Regions from separate parts of the Homo sapiens genome. Here region 1 is linked to region 2. Evidence: promoter capture Hi-C in 16 types of primary human blood cells and fetal thymus (Javierre and others, 2016). All regions are on one chromosome and are shown on one strand. The core of a region is centred on a gene start or on the middle of the fragment in contact, and the rest is flanking DNA. Distances in the headings are between cores, read along the strand shown. Region 1 overlaps GCNT2 (glucosaminyl (N-acetyl) transferase 2 (I blood group)). Region 2 holds the start of C6orf62 (chromosome 6 open reading frame 62).

Region 1 (2,700 bases), core at 131-2,630, about 14 Mb after region 2:
ACTAGTCAAGTAATTTTTACCATATTTTCTCCTAATTTATCCAGACAATTACATCAGGTGTTTGTTTGACTCTTACCTCATTCTTGGCCTAGTTCTATCCCTCCAGACATTGCAGACATAGAAGCATCTTGAATTATTTGCCTGCTCTTCGAATTTACAACTCACTGGATTTAGTTGCAGGGTAACGAACACTTGTATTTTGTGCTCTGCTGCAAGTACAAGCAAAGTTCATACGTCTTTACTTGTACCTTACCTGTAATGCTAAGACGGTCCCTTGATTTTGAGCTCTGGAATATTTATGATTCTGTAAAATAGTATCTTTGACAATGCTAGACATTTAAAAAAAGAATTAATATGAACCTATTTCCTTTTTCATCAACCCAGTGCCAGCTGGTGCATTTTATTTTGGTAGGCACATGGGACACGCTGGTCTTCCAGACCCTCCAGCTTTCCCAATGCCCTTGTACAATCTATCAGTAATCACTCTCCTCAATTCTGGGCTCTAGGCTCTTGCGTTTGTGTGATATAATGGGAGGAGATGGTAATCAGGGAGTGACCAAAAGGACGCGAGATTGTTCATCCCAGGTTGAATTTCAGATCAAAATTAATACCCCCCAATTCTAAGTCGGAGGCACTGATCAGGTGGGATAAATAAAGAGTTCTGAACAAATTGGGAACCAGCAAAGACTTATAGTTTGGTTGCTCAATAACTGGCAGGGTGTATATTATGTTCAATCACTAATTGCTTATTTCTCCATAACACATACTCTTATAAATTCTCACTCTCCAGGATGTAAACTAATTTTCATTGCACTAAGACACTGCACTTAGAGTTTAATCTCAATAACTGACTGTAGAAAGAGAAGCAGAAAAAAAGGGGTTCCTTTCTACAGACAAGAATCCCATCATCCTCACCTTAATTATTCATGGACCATATGATGCCCAAAGCACTTTTCACATATTCATTTTACCATGACATCACCTGTGTGCCCAAATTAGAAACCGGGGGGGTGGGCCGATGGAAACTTTCTCAGTGTCTGTGAAAGCCTGATGCAGTCTCAGAGGAAGAACAGCTTGGATTAAACTGGTTTTTAATCTGAAGGGCAACACATTTTGTCCTTTTTCTTTTCTTTCTTTCCTTTTCTTTTTTTTGGGGGGTGGGGGACAGAGTTTTGCTTTTGTGACTCAGGCTGGAGTGCAACGGCACAATCTCAGCTCATTGCAACCTCGGCCTCCCAGGTTCAAGTGATTCTCCTGCCTCAGCCTCCCAAGTAGCTGGGCTTACAGGTATGCACCACCATGCCTGGCTAATTTTTGTATCATTTTGTCCTTTTTCAAAAAGACAACCTTTTCCTGTCCTCCTCTCTGCCTGCTCTTTCTTATTTATGTGTTTTCTCTTGACAAGTTCGGTACCCTGCTTTATCCTCATCACTATTTCTTTTTAAGCATAGGTTATAACCACAGGCTTCCAGCAACAGGGCTTAAATAGTATGGTTAAAAAGAGCCCTGGATTGAGTTAGAGACCAGCCTGACCAACATGGAGAAACCCTGTCTCTACTGAAAATACAAAATTAGCCGGGCGTGGTGGCGCATGCCTGTTAATTCCAGCTACTCAGGAGGCTGAGGCAGGAGAATCGCTTGAACCCCGGGAGGCGAAGGTTGCGGTGAGCCGAGATCGTGCCATCGCACTCCAGCCCAGGCAACAAGAGCGAAACTCCGTCTAAAAAAAAAAAAAAAAAGCCCTGGATTATGTGTCAGAAAGTTTCCGTGGACCAAGGCCACTCTTAACAGGCTTGGAGCCGTTGAATAAGTCATTTGATTTATAATCACAGCTTCCTCTTGGAGTGAATTTGAGAAAACAACACCCGTTTGTTGAAAAACAAACCAAGATCCAGCATGGATCTCGCAGGCTGTAAGGGGCTCTGCTGTTACTTAGAGCCTCCAACTCCCAACTGTGGCTTCCTTCCTAGCCAGATCACCACACCTCTTAGTCTTGGTTTTTTTTTTTTTTTTTTTTTGAGACAGAGTCTCGCTCTGTCACCCAGGCTGGAGTGCAGTGGCGCGATCTCGGCTCACTGCAAGCTCCGCCTCCCGGGTTCAGGCCATTCTCCTGCCTCAGCCTCCCGAGTAGCTGGGACTACAGGCGCCCACCACCAAGCCCGGCTAATTTTTTTGTATTTTTAATAGAGACGGGGTTTCACCGTGTTAGCCAGGATGGTCTCGATCTCCTGACCTCGTGATCCGCCCACCCCGGCCTCCCAAAGTGCTGGGATTACAGGCATGAGCCACAGCGCCCGGCCTTGGTTTTTCAAGTCTAGAGTCAAGACAACAGCAATCTCCAGGCCATGCTGGGAGGATTCTGGAGGTAGGGCACCTAACGTGCTCAGCTCAGGGCTTCTAGAGAAGTCAGAGCTAATTCCAGACCTGGATGGAAAGCTGTGGGGAAGAAGAGGCTACGAGGGGGAAATGAAGTGGGTTGTGATCGTTTAACAAAAAATAGCTGGGAAAAAAAGTAATAGGAAACTATAAGAGAAAGCTGGTCTTTTTTTTTTTTTTTTTCTTTTGAGACGGAGTTTCGCTCTTGTTGCCCCGTCTGCAGTGTAATGACGCCATCCCGGCTCACTGAAGCCTCTGCCTCCCGGGTTTAAGCAATTCTCCTGCCTCAGCCTCCCGAGCAGCTGGGGTTACAGGCATGTGCCA
Region 2 (2,709 bases), core at 19-2,518:
CTGAGCGGCGGCAGCAGCGCGGGCGGTCCAGTCACGGTGCGCACTGCAGCGGGGATGGAGGGGCTCAGTTGGCTGGTGGTTTTCTCTTGACATGGCTCCTGCCCGTGCTACCAGCAGCGCCCCCGCCGCCGCCGCCTCTTCCGCCGCCGCCACCGCTCCGCCCGCAGGCTGCGGCTAGAGGGCCCAAACCCCGCCCTAGAGTCGGTCCGTGAGTCCCGGGCTCCGCGGGGACAGGGAGGGGATTTCCCCGTCACCCACCCCGCCCTAGCTGCCTCAATTCCACCCCCTGCCCCTCGGGAAACAACTAACGACCCCACCCTAAACAATCCAAACTCTGGAAACATGGTCTGTTCAACGTGAGAGAGAGCTAATCCGGGAACTTAATTTTTTGGGGGGAGGGTGGGTGGGCTTACTTTAGAAGTAATATTAACACAATTATTTTCTTTTTTTCCCCCACTGAACCTTCCCATTTACCCTCTCCCGCCCACTCCACCCGGGCGGGAATTGTTTCCACGATGAAATGAGTGAAAACCTGAGTGATCCTGTGTCTCCCGTGGTGCGAGTGAGTCGCTGCCGCTGAAGGCAAGGGGTGGGGGTGGGACCTGCGGGGGTGGAAGGCAGGTGGTCTCCGGGCACCGCCTGGGATTTGGGAGAAGAACCCGCCACCTTTGCCTCGGCAATGCTCACAAGAAGATAAATCGCACTCCCCACCATTTTGAACGGGGGCAGATCCACAGGGAAGTCTCCCTTGGGGAATGTAGGACTAGTTGCAGGCTGGGGGTGTTGGGAACCCGGGCATTAATCAGGTCTAACCACAGAGCCGGAATAATTAATACCGTATTATATACCCCTTTTCCTTCTGCCGTCATGATTCTCCTTGGCAGCAGCGTTAGCAGCCGCCTGAGGGTGAAAATGTGGGTGATGGGGAAGTTGGTAATGACTCCGCTGTTTTTTCTCATGGCTCCTTTGGGCCACAGCTGCCCGCCCCCGGTATACACTGTAGTTGATTGCAGGGAAACCCTGTACCTCTCCCTTTCCTTCTCTACCGATTTTGCACTTTTCTCTATGCTCACCACCAAGTGTAATCAATAACAAGCACTGACAATACATAGCAATAGTGAAATCTGAAATAACTAAGAATTAGGTACTACAGCCATGGAGCTGGCTGGGTAAAATCTAATTGGATATTTCAGTTTCATTCACCTACCCTGTTTTGGTGTTTGGTTTTGGTTTTGGTTTTGGTGAGTTTTTTTTTTTTTTTTTTTTGGAAAGCAAGGATCACACTTCCCCCTCCCTGTTCCTTAATCCCTTTTCTAAAAAGGGGGGAAAATCCGGATGGATTTTAGGGATTGGTCTGGTGTCAGCTGTGTTTTATTGCACACCTAAATCCTGATTATAGGCTTTTCATTTCTCCGCAAAGCCTTTATTTTGGCAGTTAAGCCAAATGTGTTTTCCAGAAAGTTAGTTATTTTCTCCTCTTTCTTTCCTTTCTTTCCTCCCTTTTTCCCGTCTGACCCCAAACGTTATTGTCCAAACATGACTGGACAGCAGCTTTTGTTTCTTGACCCTGTAATATGACAGTCTGCTAATATTGACAGAAGGTGCAGTTTTTGGGTTATAGTCGTGATTTTCGCTAATCAATCATATTAGCAGGAAAAAAAATGACTTGTTTCTGTTGTACTTGAGTCTTAAGAAAAAGTGCCCATAGTTTAGTGACAATTTCCAAAGGCTTTAGTACCACCTGTATTTCAAAATGGGGGACCCAAACTCCCGGAAGAAACAAGCTCTGAACAGACTACGTGCTCAGCTTAGAAAGAAAAAAGAATCTCTAGCTGACCAGTTTGACTTCAAGATGTATATTGCCTTTGTATTCAAGGAGAAGGTAATTTAAAGTTCTTAATGGTGAATTAGCACAAGTAATTTTTGTAAGTGTATATTATTTGTTACTCTTAAATTATTATGAATATTAGGTTAAAGAGTGGTTGAAAAAAAGTCTGCTTTGTATGCTCTGTTTTTTCACCCTTAGGGGTGATTCTGTGAATTGAGCAGTTGCAGCATGCGAAAAGACCCTTGAGCGTTCTTTGGTTTGGAAATAAATTTGAGTCTGAAGCTTAGTAGTAGTATACACTGAGTTGACATGGGGTGGGCAAGATTACAAAATTTTATATGGAGTTAACATGGGAAACCTTATGATGGAATTTAAAGATTATCTAATGTAGAGTATAAATAAGATGGTTGAAAGTGTGAAATTGTAATCAGACTGTTTATATGCTAAAGTTTATCCTGTTTCTTAAACTGCGTAATGTAGGTAACCTTTTCTCTTACATTTAATGAAGTAGAATACACCTTTTAGGAGCAATTAAATACTGAAATGGTTAATTTGTGTTTAGAAGTGTGATTTTCTTTTTTACTTAGAGTTCATTTTGCCTTGTATAGAAGTACAGTTTTTAAAAACTCAAAATGACCTAGAGGAAGTTTCATTTTTAGGGGCGGTGGAGGTCTTAATCAGAATTAGTTCCGCAGTTAAATAGCAAACAGTAAGTTGTGAGTAGTCAAGGATGGGATGATAAGAGCAGTATTTTTTGCAACTTAAAATGAACATTTTCTTAAATTATCAGCAAGGCTTATTTGACCAAAGATGAGGTTATGAATGTAAGGAAGTGCTACTTGGATTTTGGTGCTTAAATTGTTAGCTAATTTCAGATCAGA

Evidence for each region. The method cuts DNA at HindIII sites, captures the fragments that hold promoters and counts their contacts. A CHiCAGO score of 5 or more calls a contact.
Region 1: a fragment that was not itself captured here is called in contact with the fragment with the promoter of C6orf62 in region 2 in 1 of 17 cell types (M0 macrophages); the score reaches 6.5 in M0 macrophages.

The regions. Positions count from the first base shown.
Region 1 is chr6:10,523,291-10,525,990 of GRCh38, reverse strand. The region is part of intron 1 of GCNT2 (glucosaminyl (N-acetyl) transferase 2 (I blood group)); the gene reads right to left. Among named protein-coding and RNA genes, the nearest start is that of GCNT2, 3.3 kb to the right of the region's middle. The HindIII fragment of the contact is 3,884 bases long and covers 1-2,700 here.
Region 2 is chr6:24,717,713-24,720,421 of GRCh38, reverse strand. C6orf62 (chromosome 6 open reading frame 62) reads left to right here and starts at 1,268. Exons shown (of 5, transcript NM_030939.5): 1 at 1,268-1,882. The coding sequence starts at 1,754. RefSeq lists a silencer at 55-224 and an enhancer at 1-587. The HindIII fragment of the contact is 3,349 bases long and covers 1-2,112 here.